Regions from separate parts of the Homo sapiens genome. Here all the other regions are linked to region 2. The links are contacts of gene promoters, found by promoter capture Hi-C in blood cells and fetal thymus (Javierre and others, 2016). All regions are on one chromosome and are shown on one strand. Each heading gives the region's core, a stretch centred on a gene start or on the middle of the fragment in contact. The rest is flanking DNA. Distances are from core to core; before and after follow the strand shown. Region 1 overlaps PTPRC (protein tyrosine phosphatase receptor type C). Region 2 holds the start of C1orf53 (chromosome 1 open reading frame 53). Region 3 overlaps LOC105371677 (a long non-coding RNA gene).

Region 1 (4,687 bases), core at 31-2,530, 790 kb after region 2:
ATAGATTACAATGTTTTAGTGTCACCTAAAAATCACTCAGTGGAGGAATTTAGAATCATATCCAGTGATAAATCAGTGTACAAGCAAACACATATTCAATTCAAGAGGCCTTTATGGGAAGTAAGCATGAACATAGAAGAAAGGAAAATGTTGGCTCTTTAGATATTATACTGTTTTCCAGGATATTAAATTTTGCTGCATTAAAGATGAAAAGATTCGAGGAAATTTTGAATATGGAGCGATGATGAGATCAGAAAAAAATGTATATGTATGCCCATTATTCTGTCCTCTAGCTCCAGAAACCTCTTAACATCTAAACAAAAGGTCTGTAAATTTTAATAATTGTGCTTGATATTAGTGTAGTTTGGTTGACTTTCCTGTCAAAATAGTATTCTGTAATAAATTAACTTGACACACCTCTAAATTTTCTCTAATATTTGTTTGTACCATTATAGAGCATTCACTCAGCACATTGTGATTTAATCTGCATATCTATTTTTAGGGTCAAGGTTATTTTAGCATTTGTAGCACTACTAGTAATTTACTTGCAGCCAAATTATGATTAAGATGCATTTTTACTTAGCTCATGAGTTTTTAATAAACACCTTCTGTAAAAGAATTCTCATGCTTAAAATTTCATATGAAGAGGAAAGGCTGTAAGGACAAGTTGATGGGAAAAGGGGACGCCTGATGAATGAGAGCATGGCCTGTAAAGTCAGACAGGCTCAGGTTCAAGTCTGGCTCACATATACTAGACTGGCCTTGTGAACTTGGCCAAGACACTTGACTTTTCTAAGCTTCTTAGGGTTTTTGTGGTGCTTAAGAAAGAAAACATAAGCAAAAGACTTAGTATAGTGCCTGGCACCCAGTAAACACTCAATAAATATTAACAATTAATAACAATAAAATATTATTTCTAAATTATTCTTTAAAAAAGTAAATCATTAGAAACAGTCTTCTCCGTTTTGGTAATTTACCTCTTGTCCTTCTTTTCAGAAGTTAGATTAAAATAATATACATCATGTATTTCTTTTAAAAAACGTATTGCCTTTGGACCACTTGGAAGTTTATTAATCTCTCTGAGACATGGAACATATACGTAGTCTGATGAATAGTGTACTGGTTGGAAACAGTTCTAGTATATTTACTCAGGCATTCACAGTTCTTTTGTTAAAAAACAAATAGCTTCACATAGTGTCCCAGCATTTTTCTTCTCATTTCTGTGGTAAACAGATGATGAATTATAATTTTCTTTTATGAAACTCTATCTATAGTTGGTGCTACACATTTTGGTGACAACAAAGTAGTAAATCAGAACAACAGAATATAGGGGTCTGTGGAATTAGTGGTGCAGGTAACATTAAGATTTCTCTTTTCTCTGTCATCAAATTTGCTTTCTGATTTCTCCTCTGTATTAACTGATCCAATGGCTTCCGTCATTCTGAGGAAAAAGTTCAAGCTCCTTTTCAAGGCCTACAGTGCTTGCTCCTTGGCTCTTCTCCTAAAGCTGTTATCATCAGATCTGTTTGATTTCTCCTTTGCACTTACTCATGCTTAAAAGAATCCAGCAATTACTTATCAATCACTTCTTATACACAAGACTCTTTGCTACAGCTATTTCTCTTTCTTCTCCTCCTCTTCCTCATCTTATTATGTGATTCATGCTGATGTTGATGCGAGAAATTTTGATTATTAGTCTTAATCAGGTGTATCCATGACTAAAATGTCATTGCAGATGACTAGATATATGTGTTTTATGGGTTATAAGCTTATCCAGGGCAAGGGTCATGCTTTTATCATGTTTGAACCTAGTCTCCAACAGCATACCAGCAAAACAATGTATGTTTCTTGAACCTAAGTGAACTAAATTAACTTGTTTCAAGTTCCAAGGAATGAGGTGCTTGCATGAGAAGGGGCATATCAACCTAATTTTAGATATGTAAGAGCTCATGTATTTCTCAGATAAAGAAGAGATATGTGTTGTATAAAGTATGTTCACACACTCAAAAACAATTTGAATATTTTAAATTTGGTGATATGTTTTGTTCTTCACAAACAATGAAGGACACTTTTCCTTTCACTTCAAACATGAGAGCTATTAGTTATTGCTATACTAATATTTTTTTCTTATTACCTCTTTTGCAAATCAACACAATTCTAAGACTGTAATTTACAAGGAAATAAGAACAAATAAGGAGAGCGGAATGCTGTTAATGGGAACATAAACATAACAATAGTTTACATGAAACAGAAAGATAAAAGCTAACTAGATAAGAAAAGGGACAAAAGTACAAACAATATCAATTAAAAACAATATTTAAGTATGAATTATTAAGAAAAAGAGAAATGTAATGAGAAAACAAGAAAGTCATTATGTTAATAATTATGTATCACCCATCAATGATATAAAAATATATATATCAAAAATGCATTTTACTTCAAGGAATAAGCCAGGGAATGTCATTGAAGAATACGGGGTGATGCTCCTTGGATGGCAACTCTGAAGGAAGAAAATGTTTTCACATCAGTTTGTTCTCAGAAGATAAAATATAAAGGCAGAAAGTCACCTTAAGTACCAGCTAATTCACTTTCCCATCTGATCTCTGATTCTCTTTAACAACCTGAGTTTACAGTCATTTGGAAAAGAACTTTACAATCTTTTAAATAGGCATTTACTAAGATGAGGGATGAAAACATTGCACTTCACTGTAGACTGAATCTAGTTCCCATCATGCCAAGAAAGCTGCTCTTTTCAACATTTCCACAAACCCAGATGATAAATCCAGTTGACCCATGTTAATGCACCATGTTTATCCTGCATGTGAATCCCCATATTATTTGACTTCAACCATTTCCTTCTCGAAACACCCTCTACTCTTTATTCTTGTTTGCTACAGTTTTCCTCTTACTTGGAAAATTTGATTACCTATGCTGGCTCTCTCCTTAATATTCACTGAACTTCAGGATTCTATCCTGGACACTTCTCTTTTATGTAGTTCGGTGATCTCCTTCACCTCTGTAGCTGCAAAATGTATCTATATGCTGATCTATAGCATCAGCCCAGATGTATGTCATGAGCTACAAACCTCTATATTCAAATGCTATTATACATTTTCACATGAAATCTCAAGCAAATTCTGATTCACCTCTCTACTCACTGTTTATTACTCTCAAGTTCAGTGAAACTATAACTCACTAGCATGTTAAACTATCAATCTAGATATTTTCCTTATTACTCTTTCTCCTTTATTCTCACTTGAAAGGATTTACAAAGTCTTGGTGATTCTTGAGTGTTTCATAGGTCCTTTTCCCCCAACCTTTCTTTTGGGGTATACTCTTCCTACGTAGGACATCATCTCTGTCTGTTTTGCTTTGGTTTTGGTCTCCTGATTTTCCTGCCCCCACCTTTGCTCTTTAATAATCCATTTTCCATTTCCTGAAAGGTTGATCTAAAATTCAAATGTTTCTCCTTTAGGCCTCCCTTTAAAGACATCCCTTTAATGGATATCTAAAGCCTGTAAGATAAATCCCAGCTTCTTATTCTTCTGGGACCAAGCTAGCTATATGCAATCCTTTAGGTTGTAGCTTAAATACATCCAAGAAACCCTCTGTATCAACTCCTTTACCAGCCAACCACCAACTCTGGAAATATAAATAAGATGATCCTGTTATGTTCTCCTTTAGCACATTCTGTATCACCTGTCATCACACTGTATTGATTGATTGTTTTTGTTTATATCTCACACTAAATTGAGCTCATTGAGGGCAGGGAATTTTTATATGTTGGTCATATTATATCCCTAGCATGTGGCATAATGTCTAGCACAAAATAGGTGCTCAATTAATCATCATTATCTAAATAAATAATGCATTTGGGAAAAAAAAGTTTCAAAAGTTTTTCAAAAGTCTTTTGCAGGCTTGAAATTAATCCCAATAGTGATCCTTTAGTCTGTTATGTTTCTGATTTAGCCTGGGGATTCAAAAAATAAATAACATAATTTTGATATATTTGGGCTTTGTAAACATGGTACTAAGAGAGGAAATATAGTTTCATTAGGGTAAAAGCTACTGAAAATTGCCACTTGGTGAATGTTCTATCATAGACTTGAGGTACATATAAAAATCTAATATATGTTTACATTAATATGAATGAAATTTGAAATTTTCTAAGAGATTTTTGTTTCTTCTTTGCAGGGCAAAGCCCAACACCTTCCCCCACTGGTAAGAATTAATATTTATATTTTTACTAATTTTATTTTCTTGTTGCAAAGTTTATATATTTAACTACAATTTTCTATTATTAACACTGAAATTATTTTTAAGGATAAATTTTATAATCATGAGTGATTCTTGACATTCACTTGTTCTTAAACTTTCTGCTTATACGTTATAGAGTTTAATAACTACCTAAACATGTTATTAAATTTGTATATATATTTTGTGTATAAATAGTAACTTTTCCCAAACTTGACAGTAAATCACACAACAGGTTTCTACTCTCTTTTAATATTTTAAGACTATAAAAAAATGCATTTAAATTAGATAACAAAATTTTATAGTCTGAAAGCAGGTTAACAGCTGTCTATGTATGTTATAGATATGTAGATAACAGATTTGCATATGTCTATATTTCTTTAAGAGTATGTTGCTTTTTTCAATGGTATGCAAAACCTTTGAGACTATTGAG
Region 2 (4,556 bases), core at 1,431-3,930:
ATGGTTATATGAGCAAACACATTCCTTTTATTGTAACCAGATTGAGTTGTATAATCTATATCTTGCAACCTAGAGAGTCCTAATATACCTATTTAAAAATTAATATCAATGAAATCTAGGGGAAGGCATTTCTCTGATCACCTCACCTCCATCATAACAAGCATGTTCAATGTTAACACAAGTATCCCAAATGATATAATAAATGTTATAAAATATATCAACTATTACATGTTACACACAGAGTTGTGGCACAAAATGACTCTTTCTAGAGCAAATCTAAATGTAAATGCTTTGTAAATAAAGTTCAAACTTTATGTACCACTCTAAGGTGGGACTTAGTGCCCCACTTTCATACAGTTTTGTCTACTTTGAGCACAGAGAATCTGAGAAATGAACACATGATAGAATAAGCTAAGGGTAAAGCCCTGAGGAGGCTTTCTAAAACAAGAGACATAATGAATGAAAGTTACTTGGTGAGAAATGACACCGGCTCTAAAGTATGACGATCAAATGAAAATTGAAGGGGGCAGGTAATCTATTCAACATCTAAATGACACTGGGAATGGAGAAGACAGAAAAAAAAAAGGTTAATTTTGGTTAATTCAGTAATCTCCTTACCAAATAATCTGAAATCCATTTCTACATCTCTTTAAAATTGCTGTTTTTAAGCCAGGTGTGGTGGCTCACACCTGTAATCACAGCACTTTGGGACGCCGAGGCGGGAGGATCCCTTGAACCTACGAATTCAAGAGCAGCCTGTGCAACATTGGGAGACCGCATGTCTACAAATAAAAAGTTAGCCAAGCATGTTGGCACACACCTGTAGTTCCAGCTACTCAGGAGGCTGAGCTAGGAGGATGACGTGAAATCAGGAGTTAGAGATTGCAGTGAGCTATGACTGCACCACTGCACTCTAGCCTTGGCAACAGAGTGAGACTCTGTCTCAAAAAAAAAAATACTGTTTTTAAATTTTGAAATAATTACAGGTTCACATGCAGTTGCAGATATGGTACTGTGTTTACTTCACCCAGGTTCCCCCAATGCTTACACCTTACATGCTTACAATATGAAAACCAGGGATTTGACATTAAAACAATGTATGTATAGCTCCATGGCATCTTATCACATGTAAATTTTTGTAATCATCATAGTCAAGATACAGAATTATTCTGTTACCTACAAGATCTCTGTTGTTCAAGCCCTGTACAGTCCACTTCCACCCTCTCATCTTCACCAAAAGAAGTTTCATGTAACAATATGTACTCTTGTACATATGTATCTATATAAGATATGTATCTATATAAGATAGTTCCATTTATTTTCTATTTAAATCTGGTCTAGTCTATTTCATTCCTGTAAAATGCTGTCTCTACCCTTTGAATCGATGTCATGGCCTATTAGTGGATCCTGATCCTTAATTTTAAAGACAATGCAGTAAATCAATCTCAGGTTTTTGTTGGTGCGGGGACCTGACTTATGGTGAATGTGAATAACATCACAGTTGTTCATTTTTGGTGATCTCATGTTTGGTCCCACTCTTCCACAGCTTTCTCTAGGGTCCCTCCTTCGCTTTCCAGATTTTAAACTCTCCTCAGATTACTTAACAGTCTCCAGATCCTAATTTTTTATTCCAACAAAAAGAAAATCAATTTGCAAAATATAATACCAATTTATTAATTCACTGAGATTTTTAATGAACCAATAGGGTTGTTTCAATCACCTCCTACTAAGATTTAAGAAAATGAAAATATGACTACAGGGTTGCATGGTAAACACAGAAACCAAAAAACACGTAGTGATGGTCTATAGTGGCTTAGTCGCCTTTCTCCTGTACAACTGAATAATCTACTTTTGTCCTCAAAGATCAATTCCTGCCCTCCCAGTATTGAAGAGCACTAACAAAATTGGTACTCTTCAGCCCTCCTTTTCTTGAAACCCAGACGGGGGGTAGGAAGATGGGGTGGTGTTAATTTAATCCTAACACCTGAAATTACTTCCCGGGCTTGCCGTAATTTTCTCAAATACAATTATGTGACGGTATCAAGATCACTTTCATCCATCAGAAAGGAGATAATAGTTTTAGGTTGGATTTTGTAAATATTCAGCAACATGAACACAACACCTTTTCTTATTCAGTGTGCGATTTTACTTTTGGCCCTTATTCTAGGGTGGGCCAAAGAACCAAGCAAAGAAGGCTCCGCTTCCACCTTTATTCCTATCACATACTACCTGGAAACACTCAGCCTTTTCTGGATAGGCCCAAGGTGGTTATTCACAAACCTCGGGTCTTTTGATCACTTTCTGGGATCTTAACAGTTGTGGAGATTATACTGAATGATCCCAAGTCCAGTCTGACATAACAAAAAATGTCCACCTTTCAGCTGGGTGGGCGCGGGGGAAGAAGGAAGAGCTTAGAATTTAAGTCCAAAGATGTGGAAACACCAGGCTCTTCCCCGTCCAGGCAGCTCATCAGAGCCTCGTTAGCTGCCTTAAAAGCCCATTTTATTTCCGCAGCGGGCCCGCTGGTGAAGGCAGAAGGCTCAGTCCGTCCGCCTCCACCTGCTGCCACGGCAGCGCGAACCGACCCCACGCAGCGATGGCCACGAGCTGCCCAAGACCGGCTCGCCGCGCCCAGGCCCGCGTTGGTCGCCCCTCCGGGCCCCAGCGCCGGGTGCTCCGCCTCCCAAGGCCGGCGGCGGCATGGCGGCCAGGCAGATCTGGGCACGGACGGGTGCCGCGCTCTGCAGGCAACCTTCCGCCGCCCCGCCGCCAGCACCTCTCTGGGTAAGAGCTGGGTTCCGACAGCAGCTCAGCTTAACCCTCTGCCCTGCTAACGAGGGAAACTGCGGCGGCTCCGCGCCCAGCACGCCCGGTAGGCCGGAGAGAGCGGCGAGGCCTTCGGTGAGCGAAGAGTTAACCGCGGCGGAGCGACAGATCGCGGAGCTGCACGCTGCCGCCTGCGCGGTGAGACTCCCTCCTGCCCGCCCCGCCCCGCCGCGGCCGCCCCGGGCTCGGCGCGCCTGCGCATCCCGGGCCTCTCCGGACCCGGAGGCCGCCCGGCAGAGGCAAAGGTTGCTGGATACCGGTGCGGTCCTGCCTCGGGCGACATTCGCGCACGCACACGAACTTCCAGCCCCGACATTTTCGCGGGAAACCTGTGTCTGTCTTGAGTATGAGTGTGATTTGTTTTCCGATCAGCGTCCGAGCTAAACTCCGGTCGCAGTGTGGGACCCACTACCACTCTTTTGTGGTGTATGTGTGTGTGTGTTGCGGAAGGGGGTGTTAAGGAATTGATGGAGAAGGTGGAGGGACTGAGAAGTCACAACAAAAATGTGTTGTGTGTTTTTCTGCATTGTCAGTTGAACACTTAGCAATCCAGTGATTCTTAGAGTGAGAAAAAAAGACATTGACACATTTATTTTAATTTTTCCATTGCCTTCTTGTCCTTTCTCTTAACTCTTAACGGAGCAGAGGGAACTACAATCTGGCATTTGTAGACACTCAGCTGTTTTCTCCTGTTTTGCGGATTTGACAATTGTCTGTTAGTACCAGTATCTAAACTTCTCTCCCTTTACGCCTTCTAACACAGTCTGCGTGAGTTTAAAGGCAGCATGGTTACCTTTACAAAAGAAACAGTGAGAAAAAAAGAGAAACTGACTATAATAAAGATAGAAAAGCAGTATGAAATGAACCCATTTAATAAGCTATGTGTGTGTGCCTCCAGTACTTGATGGGACTAATATTATATGGTATGACTTGAGCCAAAGGGGTAGAGAAGAAAATCCCGGAGGTTGCCTAAAATTGACTTATTTAAATAATGACAGTTAGTAGGCCCTGAGAATCCACTGTCGGTCTGACCCATTCAAGTGCTGAAACTGAATAAAGACTCATTAGGAAGTGACTGGCAGCTTTTGATTGTTCTTGTTTATGCTCTCCTTTTAAAAATAATGTATATAATTTGTTCTCATACTTCGCAATATAGATATGGTGGATATTAAAGAAAAGTGTCATTCTCCTTAGAGCAAACACCAGTATCATGTGAAGAAATTTTCAATCAGTCTAGGGAAGGAAAGGAACTTTTTCTCACTCGGGAAATTCACATTTGTTTCATCAGTGTCAGTATCACAGGTTAAATGACTATCCAGGTGACCATAAGTAAGCCCAGTAAATAACAAGCTGCTTGTTTTTCTTTTTCGACAAATCTGAGCCCCCTCACTATGGTCCTTCTTCCAGCCTCAAAGCAGATAGCTCTCTTACCTTTCTCCGGGTACCGATGCGCATCACTGAGCATCTTGCTCTCCAGTCAAACTGTCAGCACCCTTGCTTCATCTTTGTCTGTGGCCACCATTACGTGAGGCTCATTTACTGAGGACAAATTAAGTTTGTGTGGGCAGCCAGCAAGCTCAGAGGTGCTCAATCAACATGGAAAGCTGTAGAGCAGGGGCATGCGCAGGAGCAATCTGTTAGGCTTCCAGGTTGCCAGATAATTGCCCTCAGAAGACTCCCAGAAGCTATGAAAAGTAAAAAGAAGCCTGCTACAGAGTTCCTAGTGTTTT
Region 3 (4,813 bases), core at 1,376-3,875, 560 kb after region 2:
CTCAGTAGGTATTGCTAGAAATGAATGCATTTCCCCCCAATTGCTGACTCAGAAATGCATCATGATTTTGCCCTTGGGTGGTGCACTGATGGTATTCTTACTTCCAGTGTAAGTTGCAGAGTGAGCAAAAAAGAATCTAGAAAAAAAATGCTTTTTTGCAATAATAAAATATGTCACTGAATGCATGGGTGTCAGAACACTCCCACATATTTTTAGTTCTTATCCAGTTGTCCCTAATGAGGAACAAGTAAACAGAATTAGAATTCAAAAGATCTGGATTTGGTATGACCTCTGCAATTCTACCAGATGGTACAACTCCAAGGGACACCATTCGCATAGAACACAATGTACAGGGAATACATTTTGCAGTACAGGCCCTGAGGCCACTGTTCCTCTGCCACTGCCACAACTGTGGAAGCAATGGTTCTGAACCTTCATTTCATCATCTGGAAATATGTGAACTGAGTTTGTCTTGTTCATATTCATTAAGTATAATGGGCCATGTTGGCTCATGAAGAAAGAGTAATCACTCTTGGAAGCTTTACAATTCTCCTTTTCATTATGTTTCTTCCCTGTCTCTGGTGCAGTTTTAGGTTCATAGCAAAATTGAGAGAAATGTGCAGAGATTTCCCATGTGCCTGTTACCCACACACAAGCATAGCCTTCAGCATTATCTCCCATCAGAGTGACACATTTGTTATAATTTATGAACTACATTGACACACCTTTATCACGAAAAGTCCATAATATGTGTAAGAGTTTATCTTGGTGTTGACTATTCTATGAGTTTGGACAAATACATAATGACAGGTATCCACCGTTGTAGTATCATACACAATAGTTTCACTGCCCTAAAATCCTCTGTGCTCTGCCTATTCATTCCCTCCCTGCCCCAATCCCTGACAACTACTGATCTTTTTGTCGTCCATAGTTTGCTTTTTCTACAGAATGTCATATAGTAGGAATCATACATAGCCTTTTCAGATAGGCTCCTATCACTTAGTAATGTATTTCAGTTTCTTCTATGTCTTTTTATGGCTTGATAGCTCACTTCTTTTTAGTGCAGAGTAATATTCCATTGTCTGGATGTATTTTTTGAAAAATAGTATGTTAATTTTATTCAAAATGACAATTTTTGACTCAGATTTTTTTAGAACAGCTTTATATTTGCAGAAAAAATGTAAAGATAGTACAGGAAGGTCTCATATATCTCATACTCTGTGTCTCCTATTATCAACATCATATATTGGTATGGTACATTTGTCACAATTAATGAATGAATATTGCTACATTATTAAGTAAAGTCCTTGTTTTATTCAGATTTCCTTGGTTTTTAACTTACTGCTTTTTTTCTTTTCTGGGATCCTATCCAGATTGTCATATATAGGTTAACTGTCATGTTTTCTTAGGTTCCACTTGACTGTGACAATTTTTGATGACTATGAAAATTTTGAGATGTAGTTGCATTTAAAAAAATAAGTATATTTAAATCTGTTTTTTTTTTTTACATAGTAATGGGGTCTTGATGTACTGCCTTAGACTGGCCTCAAACTCCTGAGCTTAAGCAATCCTCCTGCCTCACCCTTCTGAGTAGCTAGGACCAAAGGCATGTGCCATCATGCCTAGCTAAGGAGTACTGGTATCTTGTCCAATGTACCTCAGTTGGGATTTGCCTGATATCATGGTTAGGTTGGGTTTATGAGTTTTGGGGAGGAAGACCATAGCCATAAAGTACAATCAAAATGACTTATCACTATTAATGTTAACCTTGATCACCTGGCTGAGGTGTGTTTGTCAAGTTTGTCTATGGTAAAGTTATTCCTCCCCACTTTTTCTGAATTGTGCCGTTTAGAAGGAAGTCACCGTATGACTTACATGGAGTGAGGAGTTATGCTCCACCTTCTTGGGTGGGGTGACTTTTCTGCATAATTTGGGATTCTTTGGACAAAAGATGTGTCTAATCTCCCCCCATTTTCTTATTTAATCAATTGTTTTTATTAGCAGGAACTCCTGAATATTTATTTTAGACTTTGGATTTCATAAAGTTTTTAGGTTATGGAAAACTCCCTTGATTTTATTTAGATCTCTTATCTTACCAGCTCAGCTCTTGCCACTTCTTACCACATACTCAAAATTCTAGGCACAGGAAACACTTCTCTGTTTGCAGACATGCCACTCAGACATCTCTCTGTCTTCACACACTATTTCTTCACCTGGAATTCCCTTTTCCATATACTGTAGTTGAATTCATGTCAGTTCTTTGAGATCTAGCTCATATAACTGCCTGGAAATTAGACTTTATTTTCCCTTCCTTGGAAGTTTATGTATATACCTTTATAGTAGTATTTATCACATTATCTAATATTTGTTTGCTTGTTTATCTTCCTCACTATATTGTGAAGTCATTGTGATACAGGCTATTCCTTACTCTATTCTCCAGTAGCTAGCTCTCTGCCTAAGCAAGTTCTTGACAATATACAATATTTGAATGGATGGACAAGAAATAGAATTTCGCTAGTTAATGAAGCTGATTTTAGAAGGACTCTCTTGAGTCCTTTCTTTAGAAAAATGACATCGTGGTTCTGCTGTTAATACAATATACAATTTGAGTTGTTTTTATCTTCTTATAATGATGTGTTTATTCTGATCATGTAGACTTCCATATGCAGTAATCTTTTAAGATCAGGCATTTGTGAGATGGCTGTCCAGAGTGAAGAATGCAGTTCCTAGCCAAAGAGCAGCCTTTCCCTCTGTGAGGAGAACATATCCCCCAAGGCAGGAATGGAAACCAGAGTGACCTTGGCCTCATTAGTAGACTGCCTTAACCAGCTGAGCTAACCAGCCAGACTACAAAGATGGCAGGAAAGAAATCTAACAAACATAGACATTCACTTTGTAACATATAAAGTACAGTCTGTATTGACACACACAAACTGGCTTGACTGTTTTGACTGTCAAGTAGTCAAGAAAATATTTAAGTCAGTCAAAAAGCAGTCAAGTTGCCCAACAAGCATGTCTGACTTTCTTTTTTTCTCTGACTAGATTTTGAGTGCTGATTTGACTGGTTTGTGTTTGTAGAAACAGTCACATTTTCCTTGCCAAAAGAGAATGCTTTTTTTCACTGAGACTTAATGAAATAACTGTTACATCATATAAATTCATTTCCTTAAGCATATGTGTCAGACTATCAAATCAGTTAAGGAAAAGTCTCATCTTTTTTTCTCTTTGAAATTATGGATGGGCTAGTTTGGTTCCAAATTAAGTGAATTCATAGTGCCATCTAGTGCTTCAAAACAGAATTATCGGAGCAACTGTGGAGATACCTTAAATCAGGCATTGGCTTTAACACATTATCTTCAATTCTATGTTTAAAAGAGTCACCTAGCTGATCCAGGCTAGCATTTTCTTTTTTGGATTATTACAAGTTGATTGGGTATTGAAGTTTTATCACATTTACTGATGTGAGAAGTCATTGATTAAAGTATAGCTTGAAAAGAACCCCCAAAACATAACCAAAAACATATATCCCTTTTATTTTTAAGAGTATTAAGGATGAAACTAACCCACAAATAAAACCAAACGGTGCTTCATAAGATAGATGATGAAAATCACAACCATATATAAATTAAATCTCCTCCCACCCAAACAAGATGAAGTAAAACAGAGGATCGATGTGATTTTATTTCATGTGCTTTTGAAATATACGTTCTCAGAGAGGCTTTAGAACCGAGATACAAAGAGGAAAATGTTCACTGAAGAGAATAAACAACACATAGATGAGAGAATTGTTTCCACCTCAAGTAAACAAACAAACCTCTATTTTCCAAACAGTTTCTGCCTTGATTGCCGTCCATTCCTTTATAAAATGGTGGCAATATTTTCAGAACTTTATGTAAAATTTATGAGGGAAACAGGCATAGTTAAGACACTCTTGATTTGGAACCATTGCTGATCAAGGGACAAAATGTGACATATTTACATATTTTTCTTCAGAATTGAAATAGAATAATGTTTTCTATTTCTCTGCACATTAAAATTTTAAAAGCCCTTGCATGTGTTATTTCATCTCCCAACCACACTGTGCAGTATCATTAGCCTCATTTTAGAGTGGGTAGCCGAATTAGCATTCAAACCCTGTCTCATACCCTCCAATGCACTGACAAAGCTACATGTGCCTTTGCCTTTTTTTTTCCTTAGGGGTTTTTGAGAGCTTAGATCTGAAACAGTAAGAAGAGGAGTAGGGTTAGGAAGTGAGTGTAAGGGGAGGAAGAATTAAATGCATACATAGGGAGAGAGGGTCACTCACACTGCCTGCAAGAGAGGCAAGCAGGGAAAGCCTTATGCAAAGTTTCATACAGAGCGTCATCACCCATGGTGTCAGAGTTATCTAGAGAATGGGACAATAATTACGACTGTTGTAAACAATCCAGCCTTAATGAAATATCCTTAAATACAATATTCAGAAGTATCAAACACTAAATGAGAATTCCTAAAGAGTGGATGAAAATTCAGTACAGAGATCCATTAACGTATTGAGTAGCTTTATATCAATTGCTGCTAGTCATATGTAATCAATTTCTTTTTCCTACCCATTCTTGTTCATTTCAGATAATTCACTTTGGTTTTGATGTTACTAGAGATGCAAAGTTGTATTTTATAAATATTTTTCAGTTAAAAATTGTTTCATAGTATAGGTTTTAAAATGTGATAATAAAGCTTCATTTTGAATAGAGTTTTGCTTTAATCATTGTAGATCAGCCTTAATGTACTCAATTAAAAGTAGTTTTCTCATTATCATAAATGTTCTAATATG

What was found. Contacts are between HindIII fragments. The CHiCAGO score rates a contact against its expected background, and 5 or more counts as called.
Region 1: a fragment that was not itself captured here is called in contact with the fragment with the promoter of C1orf53 in region 2 in 1 of 17 cell types (endothelial precursors); the score reaches 6.1 in endothelial precursors.
Region 3: a contact is called between a fragment that was not itself captured here and the fragment with the promoter of C1orf53 in region 2, in 2 of 17 cell types (M2 macrophages and endothelial precursors). The highest score is 6.7, in M2 macrophages.

The regions. Positions count from the first base shown.
Region 1 is chr1:198,688,153-198,692,839 of GRCh38, forward strand. PTPRC (protein tyrosine phosphatase receptor type C) reads left to right here. Exons shown (of 33, transcript NM_002838.5): 3 at 4,195-4,221. Among named protein-coding and RNA genes, the nearest start is that of PTPRC-AS1, 23 kb to the left of the region's middle. The HindIII fragment of the contact is 971 bases long and covers 796-1,766 here.
Region 2 is chr1:197,899,950-197,904,505 of GRCh38, forward strand. C1orf53 (chromosome 1 open reading frame 53) reads left to right here and starts at 2,681. Exons shown (of 3, transcript NM_001024594.3): 1 at 2,681-2,964. The coding sequence starts at 2,701. RefSeq lists silencers at 2,566-2,715, 2,886-3,135. The HindIII fragment of the contact is 7,446 bases long and covers 1-4,556 here.
Region 3 is chr1:198,462,474-198,467,286 of GRCh38, forward strand. All of the region lies in intron 1 of LOC105371677 (a long non-coding RNA gene), which reads right to left. Among named protein-coding and RNA genes, the nearest start is that of ATP6V1G3, 76 kb to the right of the region's middle. The HindIII fragment of the contact is 4,177 bases long and covers 538-4,714 here.